Linked DNA regions of Homo sapiens: region 2 is linked to region 1. Evidence: promoter capture Hi-C in human tissues and cell types (Jung and others, 2019). All regions are on one chromosome and are shown on one strand. The core of a region is centred on a gene start or on the middle of the fragment in contact, and the rest is flanking DNA. Distances in the headings are between cores, read along the strand shown. Region 1 holds the start of MPP2 (MAGUK p55 scaffold protein 2). Region 2 holds the start of GPATCH8 (G-patch domain containing 8).

What was found. The method cuts DNA at HindIII sites, captures the fragments that hold promoters and counts their contacts. A contact is called where the count stands out against the background at its distance.
Region 2: the fragment with the promoter of GPATCH8 here is called in contact with the fragment with the promoter of MPP2 in region 1 in 1 of the 25 tissues and cell types used here (heart right ventricle).

The regions. Positions count from the first base shown.
Region 1 is chr17:43,906,004-43,912,132 of GRCh38, forward strand. It overlaps MPP2 (MAGUK p55 scaffold protein 2), which reads right to left and starts at 1,533. Exons shown (of 13, transcript NM_005374.5): 1 at 1,471-1,533. RefSeq lists an enhancer at 1,543-1,692. The HindIII fragment of the contact is 11,562 bases long and covers 1-6,129 here.
Region 2 is chr17:44,502,111-44,507,856 of GRCh38, forward strand. GPATCH8 (G-patch domain containing 8) reads right to left here and starts at 1,296. Exons shown (of 8, transcript NM_001002909.4): 1 at 1,216-1,296. The coding sequence starts at 1,260. RefSeq lists an enhancer at 1,030-1,129 and a silencer at 1,230-1,579. The HindIII fragment of the contact is 22,919 bases long and covers 1-5,746 here.

The DNA.
Region 1 (6,129 bases), core at 283-2,782:
GCCCCTGGTGCCAATCTCTACTCCTAGAGAGCAGGGAGGAGGGATCCCTTCCCTCCCCCTCCCAGGCCTTGATGACCTGGAGCCTTCTCCTGGCTGGCGCTGCTCTCCCTCACAGGGTCAGAGAAGGGACTCCAGAAGTCCTCCTTCCCTAGAGCGTGGAGGGCGGGAAAAGGCAGGGAGGATCCTGTATGAAATCCCTGCGCTCGGAAGTCTTGCCCAGCCTGCCTGGGTTTTCTCCCGGGGAATCGGTTCCCAGAGCATCGGCTGGCTTTGCTCCCCCACGCCCGTCCAAGCCTCTGAGAGGGCGGGGCCTGGCTGTGTCCACAGGAGAACGGCAGTGCCAGGCAAGCTAGCCTGGCTCCGTGCCAAGGTCCTGCACCCAGACATCTGGGAACCTGCACCTCGGCTTCCAAAAGCCTGGGCCCAGATGCCCTCTCAGCTCTGCCTCCGAGATATCCACATCACCCATAGTGTCCGCAGGCGAGCGGACCAGCAGTGAAAGGGAGAGGTTTCTTCCAACCTCCCACCCATCCCTCCATCCATACACATACAAAGAGGTGCGGAGAAGAAAGGTCTGACAAAGGCGCTTTGGAGAGCGAGAGGTCGCGGGGAGGTCTGGACAGAACTGAGGGCCAGAGGATGGGGTCGAAAGGCCAGGCGGACGTGCATGCTTGGACCATCAGATCACCCCTGCCCCAACGGACCCAGCCCTAACACCCTGGGCGCTAGGACCTGGGGGAGGGGGGCGTGTTGTGAGCCATCAAAGAAGGCTCTCTACGTGCGCGCCCGCCGGAGACCAGGGATGAGGTCACTAAATGACTGCCCCGGCCAACCCCCACCCCGTCTTTATCCGCACCGCCCCCCCCTTAATTGACCTAACTTTCTAACCCTAGCTCTTCGCTTCTGGCACCGGTCCCCTCCCAAGTCTCCAGACCCTAACCCTGGCTCCCGACCCGCCCCGCTACAGCTTGGGAAGCGGGAGAAGCAGCGCGCGCCCTTCTGCGGACCCCCTCCCAGGGAAGATTGTGGTGTTAGCTGCCTAGGGGGACCAGGGGGCCACCGGGACCCAGCGCAACCTCTGTCTCGCTCCCCAACCCCCGGAAGCGCTAACAGCACGGTTCTTACGTAATGCCGGGCTTCTAAGTACCCCCAACCCGCACAGCCCCCGGGGAGGCCGCGCAGATACCGGGGCCCCTCACAGCTCACCACCTTGGTGCCTGAAGCCACTTTGGAGCCCCTACCGCAGGGGCGGGGACCAGTGTCAATGGGCAGCGGGGCTTGGTTCTCCCAACCAGCACCCCAGAAAGAGGGCCCAGGGGCGGGGGCGGGTGGACAGGGAGGGAACGGGCCTGGGTGAAAGGGGCCTGTGGAGTTTAAACCCAGTGAATAGGGTCCTAAGTGCCGTGTCAGGACGAAAAGAAGGCGGAGGTCTTGGGATAGGAGCTGGCCCGGGGGCCGGGGGACGCCTACCTGCGCCCCGGGAAGCCCCTAGCTCCGGGCGGCTCCAGCGCAGCCGGGCGCTCAGCGTTTATTGCTTGTCAATCGCTAGCCCGGCTCTTAAAGCGGCAAGGCCTCTCCGCGAGGGGGCGGAGGTCCGGAGGAGAGGGGAGGTGAGGAGAACGCGGAGGCCGGCACAACTCGGAGGAAGTAGTCTTTCCCAGCAGCTGGTACGGGGGCAGCCAGGTAGTGGTTTGGGAGACACCGCACAGACCACGACGCCCTGCTGGAGTCCCACTGGGAAGGGTTAGGGAGGCAGGACTGGTACCAGTACCCGCTGGTGCCCCTCGGCTCCCAAGGATCCCTTAAAGGGGCGATGGTAAAAGTGCCTAATGAGACCGGCTTGATTACTCCGCCCACCCATCTTGGCTTAGACCGGCGTTCTAGTTCCAGGCGTGCCTCACTTTTCCTCGTTATCCTGCTTCCATATTGAGAAAAAGAATAGGAGGACTTCAGAGAGACTCCCAGGAAGCAGGATACCAGCCCCAGAAGGCCTCGGGATCAGGGGCAGCTTTTTAAGGACTCAGAGGGTGGATATCCGGATTCCAGACTTTCCAGAAATTTTGCAAAAAAGAGGAAATGTCTTCCTGAAAGGATTCGAGAGCCTCTTTTAGGTCTAGGTGAGGGAGGCCTGGTCCATTTTCCTGCCTATGGAATAAAGAAGTAACTGGCTAGCCTTCCTCAGAGTCCCAGCCCAAAAAGTAAATAAAGGGTTAAACCCACTGGCCCGCCTTCGCCCAGCCTCCGGCTCCACCCCACATCTGCTAGTAAAAGATGCTGGGCCTCCAAATACGGGAGGCTCTGTGCAGTGCGACTAGCATTTGGGGCCAGCTACGCTACTTCTCCGACCTCGGCGTTCAGCCACCCCGTCCAGTTGCCCTGAACAAAATGTGAGAGTCATCCCTTTTCCTTGCTAACTGGATTCCTAAGATCATAAATGGACTGCATCTTTGGCCGGGCGCGGTGGCTCACTCCCATAATCCCAACACTTTGGGAGTCGGAGGCGGGAGCATCGGTTGAGCCTAGGAGTTCGAGACTAGCCCAAGCAACATAGTGAAACCCCATCGCTACAAAAAATAAAATAAACAAAATTAGCTGGGCGTGGTAGCGCGCGCCTGTAGTCCCAGCTACTTGGGAAGCTGAGGCTGCAGTGAGCCGAGATTGCAACACCGCACTCCAGCCTGGGCAACAGAGTGAGACCCTGTCTCAAAAGAAACAAAAAGAAAAGAAATGGATTACATTCTGGAAACTTGCTTGGAAATCTCAGAAATGGGAATCTATCCCGAAAGCAGGGGACTGGTCCCTGGGTTCCAAGACTCAGCTCTCCCCTGAGTTCCAAGGGTATAAGTTTGGATATAGGAAAAAGCCACAGAGGCGGCCGAACTGCTGAAAACCACATTGTTTAGGTGACCCAGGCTTTTACTGAGAGAAGAAAGCCATCGAACCCAGATAGCTTTGACAGGAATTGCAGGCTTTGGTCTCTAAACAAAGAGGGTTCTTGGAGCGCATTGCTTGCAGCTCTTTCCTCTATCTGCAAGCTAGAAAATCCTTCTTCTTCTTCTTCTTTTTTATTTTTATTTTTTGAGACGGAGTTTCGCTCTTGTTGCCCAGGCTGGGGTGCAATGGCATGATCTCGGCTCGTCGCAACCTCTGCCTCCCGGGTTCAAGCAATTCTCCTGCCTCAGCTTCCCGAGTAGCTGGGATTACAGGTATGCGCCACCATGCCTGGCTAATTTTGTATTTTTAGTAGAGACAGGGTTTCTCCATGTTGGTCAGGCTGGTCTCGAACTCCTGACCTCAGGTGATCTGCCCACCTCAGCCTCCCAAAGTGCTGGGATTGCAGGCATGAGCCACTGCACCCGGCCTAGAAAATCCTTATAATTGAATTCAGGAAGAGTTCCCCTTTCCATTATAAAGGCTACCCTCCACTGTCACCTGTCCACCTCTGGGCTGGAAATCACTCAGCTATTTGTATTTTGGAAGAGGAAGGATCTTGAATCTCTACAAGATATTAATTACTTCTTAATCAAGCAATTATTACCTCCATAGCGACCCACATCAAATCTTCCATTCCATTTAGGATCCTCAGGACAGTCTGGGATCTCAGATTCTGGCCCACCTGGGGAGGTGGAGCCCAACTCATTATTCTTAGCGGCTGCCCCACTGCATTCGTCGGTCAACAAGTATCTCTCTAATAAAGGCCTTGCAGAATGCCAGCCTCTCACATCTGTTCAGGACCTTACAATTGACAAATTGTTTCATTCTCACAACAGCCTTGTGCAGTTACAGAATGAGAAGAAACATTTATTGATGCAGAATAGGATGCTCCTCTTCTGTGCCAGGCAAGGTACCACTTACTGTGATACTGAGATAAGGGCCCTAACCTCCTAGAGTTCACAGTCTGGGGTTGAAGTCGGAAAGGAGTGTGTTACATAGATACAAAAAGCGCTTCTTGGTAGCACAGCTGAATGCCATAATAAAGGTGCAGTGTGTCCTAAGCTGTTCCCCAAAGGAATAGAGCTGCTAATGGTTGGCAATGGAGTAGCTGGGAAGGGAAGCAGGTTTGAAGGTCGGCAATGCATCCCCTAGTAGTTAAGGGCTGCCCCCTACCTCAAGAGGGGAATGAGTCCTCCTTCTCTGAGGTTTGTAATTAGCTCTGCCTTCCTCCCTGCCTCAGCCTCAGAGGTCATAAAGGTGCAGGTAGTATATCTCCTTCCCCCAAAATCAAGGTATTCCTATGGTGGTGTTCAGCCCAGAGTTTTGGGAGTCAAGGCACAGAGAAAAATAAAACTCAAAAGTGTTACAAATTTCCAGCAGGTAAGGCTTTGCACTGAGTGATGGTGCACTTCCTATAATGACCAGCAGGGGCCACCAACAGCTATTCCCAGTTTATCTACACCCAGCCTCTGAGGTGCTTCGCCTCCACACCTGCGACTGGCCAGTGCCTAGTTCTGGAAACCTTATTTATGGACTATACTTAAAAAAAAAAAAAAAAAAAAAAAAAAAAACTTGGGCGAGGTGCCATGGCTCACACCTGTAATCCCAACACTTTGGAAGGCCGAGGTGGGCAGATCATGTGAGGTCGGGAGTTCAAGACCAGCCTGGCCAATATGATGAAACCCTGTCTCTACTAAAAATACAAAAATTAGCTGGGAGTGGTTCCGGGCGCCTGTAATCCCAGCTACTTGGGAGGCTGAGGCAGGAGAATCGCTTGAAGCCGGGAGGCAGAGGTTGCAGTGAGCCATGATTGCGCCACTGCACTCCAGCCTGGGCGACAGAGTGAGACTCCGTATTTAAAAAAAAAAAAATTAGAGCCTTCAATGGACTATATAAAATTATATAAATATTTGCCTATAAACTATATTTGTGTTATTCAACTAATTAGTATGCATATTAGAAATCACACACATAGGGATGAATTTTTATTTTCATTTTATTTATAAATAAATAAACATATTTTGAGACAGGGTCTTACTCTGTTGCCCAGGCTGGAATGCAGTAGCATGATCATAGCTCACTGCAGGCTGGACCTCCCAGGCTCAAGCCATCCTCCTGCCTCAGCCTCCAGAGTAGCTGGGACCACAGCTGCATGCCACCACACCTGGAGAATTTTTTTTTTAATTTTTTGTAGAGATAGAGTCTTGCCATGTTGCCCAGGCTGGCCTTAAACTCCTGGGCTCAAGTGATCCACTTGCCTCAGCCTCCTAACGTGCTGAGATTACAGGTGTGAGTCACTGCACCAGGCCAGGATTAATTTTTTAACTATAAATAGAAATTCCAATTTTGTCTTCCCATACCCAAAAGGATCATCTTGCACACCCCTAGGTGCACACCCACTTTGGAAACCACTGTTCTAAAGGAAAAGCTATGCCGTCCTCCCTAGTCCCCGCCTCAACAGGGCATCCAGACAGGAATGGATCCAGACAGCTTTGCCTTCCCACCAGGACTAAACCAAGGCCTCCGTGAAGGACCAAGTTTCCTGGCCTCTTGCTCATCCCACAACCTCAAGACAGAAATTGAAGCCTCCTCCGCCACTACCACTACCATTACCACCAGCCTGGCCTGCGTTCATGTCAGATTGCCTTTCTAGAGGGCAGAGCCCCAAAACCTCTCTTGTAAGCAGCATCTGTTCCTCCACCTGGCCCAACAATTGCACTTTCCCTTGCCTCCTGATTTTAGTCTGCCCACCTCCCTATTGGGGTGGGAAGTTCTGGAACCAGACAATTTTGTGTTGAAATCCTGGCTCAGCCACTTCATGTGTGTGTCTTAGGCCAGTTAAATAACCTTGCCAAGCCTCAATTTCCTCATCTGTACAATAGGGATAACAACTTTGGGAGAGGACAGAGGTAGAGTGGCTGCCATGTGCCAGGCACACAGAAGGTGTTCTATAAACGCAGTTCCCTTCTGGGAGTAGGTCTAGGCAGGTTCTAGCTAGGTGCCAGCGGGCCGTGGGTGGTTAGTCCTTATCTCTGGCTGTCTGCTGTGTCCTGGCTGACTTCAGGTTCTCCTGCGGAAGGCAGGATCCACCCCAGGGCTTCTGGAGCCCCAGGTATCTGTTACAGATAGCATGTCCTCTTCTCGCTGCCCACACACTCTTTACTGGCACCTTGCCCACATCCATCTGTGCCACCC
Region 2 (5,746 bases), core at 46-2,545, 600 kb after region 1:
AACTTCTCATAAGCGTTCTATGTACTAGACTGTTAACAGTGCTGAGTTAAAATTGTTAAACTGCTTTACCTATTTATTTACCAATCCTATCATCTCAGGGAATTCAAACTCTTTAAACTGCCTTCTGAAACACATCTAGAGTGCTTTCGTACTGCTTTGAGTAGGATCTGCAGCGGGATAAAAACTTGAGTTCTGAGATTCATCCCGACCCAAATTGCAGTTGCCAGGATATGCGGTAGTAATGCAGTGTTTTTTTTTTTTTTTTGAGACTCTACGGATGTATTTTACCTAGAAATAGCCAATCTCTACTAAATCCCTTTTAGTCTTCGAGATTTCCGCGGTAACAATTTCAACAGAAAGGTATTTTCAACAGCGAAAAAACAAGTTATTCTAATTTGGCCTTTATTTTTTACTCAATAGAGCTTGCCATCGTAAGGGCATTTTTCCATACTAACATTTGCAATTGAAGAAAGAAAAATCAAGCTTTTGGCACTAGTGACCCCATGCGTGGACGGCCTATTATCATCACGCTTCTCACAAATCTTTCGAGATAGGATTTGAGGTTAGGCTCACATCGGATCATAGTCCAGTAACTTACTGCTTTCCAAGCCCAATTAACAGCCTAATAACAGCAACACTTATGCCCCGCGAAATCTCAATGTATGACTAACCAATAAGGCGTCTGATAGCGAAGGCAACCTTTTCCCAGGTAAGGAAGAGGAAAAGCAGACAATGAAAGGAATTGATTTATCACAGTGAAGAAAGAAAAGAGAAGGACCCCAAAAGGATCCGTGAGAGCAAAATCCCGGGGTTCGGAAGCCTTGGCCTCAGCAATACTCTCCCCCAAGCCCTCTCAGCCCAACCCAACCACCCCTCTTGTCCCCTGGGAGCCAGCCCTTCGCCGGCACAGATCGGGCAGACCTGGAGGGCACAGCCCCTCACACGGCGCTCAGGCCCGGTTCCGAAATCCGATGCCAAACAGGCGGAAGCCGCAAGCCCCGCGGCCTGAGTTTCAGGGGTAAGAGAATGCGGGTGCGAGGAGATGCGGCCTCCCTCAAGCCGGGAGGCCTCTTGAGAAAGCAGAGACGGGAGAAGAGCGAGCTGGTTCGCAAGTCGGAGCAAAACTGGAAGGAAAGAGGGCTGGGAGCCGGAGATGAAGGAGGTTCTGGGCTAGACCAGCGCCTTCCCCGCATCCTCGGCGACGCCCGTGTTTACCTGAAAGTCTCGGTCTTCGTTGAAGCGGGAGAAGCGGTCCGCCATTTTGCCGCCTTCACTCCTCTCAGGACGACGCTCTCCGGTTCGCTCCTTCCCTCCTGCGACACCCACCCCTCCCCGGTTCCCCGCCTCCTCCCACGCCCACCGGGCGCGCGCAGCCGAGGGAGGGAGCGAGAATGCGCGTCCTGACGGGAGCCCCGCGGCGCAGGCGCCTGCCAGCCCTGGAGGCTGACCCTTCCCTCTAGCCCCTGCTCCGCGCGCGACCCGGAGCGACCCCGGTGGCCGCGCGTGCGCACTCCCGCCCGAGAGCCGCGAGAGCTTCCGGAGGGAAAGGTCAGAGGGGGCACCGTGCGGACAAATCTGGATGTTTTGCTGTTGCTCACTTCCGGGTGTCTTTTCTCACTGTTGCTTCCCCGTGTGCGCAGAAGTCCATCGTCTTCACTAAATAGCAGCATAATGTTGGGCCGAAAGCGCGACCTTAGAGCCAGACTGCTTAGCTTCGAATCTCAGCTCACCCTGAGGATTCAACGGTGAACGAGACAGGAATGATCTCCTCTTATGGGGATTTCATTCCAGTGGAAGAACTCACATAACTCGTAAAATAAATATTTTTAAATATCAACAAGTGCCACAAAAAAGTAAAACTGGCCACAGTGCTGAGAGGGACAGTCTCTGAAAGGACCTTTGACCGAGGCACAGCGAGGAGCCTACAGCATTGGGGCATAGGGAACGTTAGACCCAAAGGCCCAAAGACTGCAAGGAGCTTGACTTCGAGCCATCCTTTGAGAGAAGTATTTCACAAGGGACCGAAGTTGATCCAGATCGACTAAAGCTCTCTGGGCTTCAGTTTCCTTTTTATACAATAGGGAAATTGGATTCAGTAATCTCTGATGCTCCTGCCTAGCGCTGACTATGAGAGTCAAGAATCGGATTTTTCCATCCCTTCTGAGGACCTCACCCAGTGCTCCAGGACTCTTAGCCAAAATACATAAAACACATAGAAGGGTGGCAGGACTTCTCTCCTTTTGAAAAGAGTAGTTGACAGAAATCACACAATGGAAAAATGGGTCTTACCCTGCCCTGAAAGAGTCAAATGGAATGTAATTTTTTGAGGAAGGGTGTGTATTTTCTAGCTGTTACCCTTTGCCCCACCCATGCTTCAGCCTACGCTTCCATCTAAGGGGAGGCAGGGCACACAGAATTCAAACATTGTATTCTTTTTTTTTTTTTTTTTTTGAGACGGAGTCTCGCACTGTCGCCGGAGTACAGTGGCGCAATCTCGGCTCACTGCAACCTCCGCCTCCCAGGTTCAAGAGATTCTCCTGCCTCAGCCACCCTAGTAGCTGGGATTACAGGCGCCCACCACTAAGCCCAGCTCATTTGTTTTTTTTTTTTTTTGAAAAGGAGTCTCACTCTGTCGCCCAGGCTGGAGTGCAGTGGCGCGATCTCGGCTCACTGCAAGCTCCGCCTTCCGGGTTCACGCCATTCTCCTGCCTCAGCCTCCCGAGTAGCTGGGACTACAGGCGCCCGCCACCAAGCCCGGCTAATTTTTTGTATTTTTAGTAGAGACGGGGTTTCACCGTGTTAGCCAGGCTGGTCTCGATCTCCTGACCTCGTGATCCGCCTGCCTCGGCCTCCCAAAATGCTGGAATTACAGGCGTGAGCCACCTCGCCCGGACTTTTTTTTTTTTTTTTTTTTTTGTATTTTTAGTGGAGGCGGGGTTCACCATGTTGGCAAGGCTGGTCTGGAACTCCTGACCTTGTGATCCGCCCGCCTCAGCCTCCCAAAGTGCTGAGATTACAGGCGTGAGCCACCGAGCCTGGCTCAAACATTGTAAAGAGACTTAAGGGTAGCGTGAAAGATTGAATCACGAGGATACACATCACACTGACCTCTTCTTCCTCTCAAAAGCCCACTGAAATGACAGCAGAGGAATAAGAAGTGCATAAATTCACATGGACAAAGAGACCTGGAGAAGAGACAATGGCAGACAACAGATGTCAACATTTTGGAGGCCAGAGAGCACAGATAAATGGAAATGACTTTAGTAGAGTGGAGAAAAAGAAGTCATAGAGTAGGAGAAGACAGGAAAGAAGTTGATCAATGCTAAAGTGCACCAGAAAGGCTCAGGAAGTAGAAGCCCCTGGTGCCACTGATGATTCGATGTCTCTTTTCCCACCCAGGTAGCAAACTAGAGGTTTTCCCTCTGGAAAGGCTGAACCAGAGAGACTGGACTTTATAGGTGAGAAGGAGCAACCATGCTGAAAATGGGAGGATATGGTAAAGCCTCCATTCTGGCCAGAGAGTCTGACTTCTCCAACAAAAGAACATAGGAACCCTCTCTAGAAAATTGACTAGCTTAGGGAAGAAAATGCTTCATGTACCAACAATGGGAGTGAGGGTAGGGAGGTGTCTTCCTACATAAAGATCATGTTCCTGCCCAAATACTCCACAGAGAAGTCCATCATTCAGGAAGCCCCATCCACACAGACCTTTCACTCAGCTTTTTAGTGCCTTGTTATGAATGGATAGCCAAAGAATGCCAGACATTTGAAGGGAACCTGTAACAGGAAAGATAGAAACACCCCCAGCCTGGGCATTGTAGTAAGACCCCAACTCTGCAAAAGAACTTTAAAACTAGGCGTGGTGGCATGCACCTGTGGTCCCAGCTACTTGGGAGGCTGAGGCAAGAGGATTGCTGAAGCCCAGGATTTGGAGGCTGCAGTGAGCTATGATGACAGCAACAGCCCCCCTCCCCCAAAAAACGAATTCAGAGGAACCAGAGATAATGAAAGGAACAGAAGAAACCATCAAAAGAATTATCAACATCCACGGAGACATTATATCACATCAGGGTACAAGGGAACACATCAGGAAATAAGAGACTGCATCAAGGGGCATGGGATGCCAAAAAAGAAAAAAGGATATTGAGTTTAAGAAAGAACTTTTGGCCGGCGCGGTGGCTCATGCCTATAGTCCCAGCACTTTGGGAGGCTGAGGCTGAAGCAGGCGGATTGCCTGAGGTCAGGAGTTCGAGACCAGTCTGGCCAACATGGTGAAACCCCGTCTCTACTAAAAATACAAAAAAATTAGCCGGGCGTGGTGGTGTGCACCTGTAATCCCAGCTACTCGGGAGGCTGAGGCAGGGGAATTGGGCGACAGAGCAAGACTCCATCTCAAAAAAAAAGAAATTTTGGGGCTGGGTGTGGTGGCTCATGCCTATAATACCACCACTTTAGGAGGCCAAGGCAGGTGGATCACTTGAGGTCAGGAGTTGGAGACCAGCCTGGCCAACATGGTGAAACTCCGTCTCTACTAAAAATACAAAAATTAGCCAGGCGTGGTGGTGAGTACCTGTAATCCCAGCTACTCAGGAGGCTGAGGCAGGAGAATCGCTTGATCCCAGGAGGTGGAGGTTGCAGTGAGCTGAGGCCACGCCACTGCACTCCAGCCTGGGTGACAAGAGCGACACTCCATCTGAAAAAAAAAAAAAATTAGCCGGCCAGGGTGGCGCATGTCTGTAATCCCAGCTACTCAGGAAATCACCCAGAAAACAGACTAAAAAGACGCCCTGGTCTAAACCACCTTTACTTTCTCCTGAATTATTGCAGTAGCTACTACGTGTTCTGCTTCTACCCTGGCAGCATACATGTTACAAAGGAGCTCTGGTGATCTGTTAAAGGTCAATCAGATCACATATGTTGTCCCCTGATTCAACGCACAGTGACTTTCCACGTCACTCACAATATAAAGTTCACCTCTTACCACCCCACCTCTCACCGCCCCACCTCTCAGACCTCATCTTCCTCTCTCCACCCCTGTTTCCCTTCTCTCTGGACATACGGGCCTCTTGGCTGTACCTTGATCCCATCAGGCCTGTTCTTGCCTCAGCCTGCCTCACCCATGGGCTTATGTATTCGCTGTTCTTTCTGCTTATCATTCTTATATATCTCCTTGGCTTGGCCCTTCATCTTCTAGTCTTTATTCAAAAAGTACTTTTTTTTTTTTTGAGATGGAGTCTTACTCTGTTGCCCAGGCTGGAGTACAGTGGTGCAATCTCGGCTCACTGCAACCTCCGCCTCCTCAGTTCAAGCAATTCTCTGCCTCAGCCTCCCGAATAGCTAAGATTACAGGTGCCCACCACCATGACCAGCTAACTTTTGTATTTTTAGTAGAGACAGGTTTTCACCATGTTGACCAGGCTGGTCTTGAACTCCTGACCTCATGATCCACCCGCCTCAGCCTCCCAAAGTGCTGGGATTGCAGGTGTGAGCCACCCTGCCCGGCAAAAAGTTACTTCTTTTTTTCTTTTTCTTTTGAGATGGAGTTTTGCTCTTGTTGCCCAGGATGGAGTGCAGTGGTGTGATCTCGGCTCACTGCAACCTCTGCCTCCTGGGTTCAAGCAATTCTCCTGCCTCAGCCTCCTAAGTAGCTGGGATTACAAGCCAGCACCACTACACCAGGCTAGTTTTTGTACTTTTAGTGGAGATGGGGTTTCGCCATTTTGGCCAGGCTGGTCTCAAACTCCTG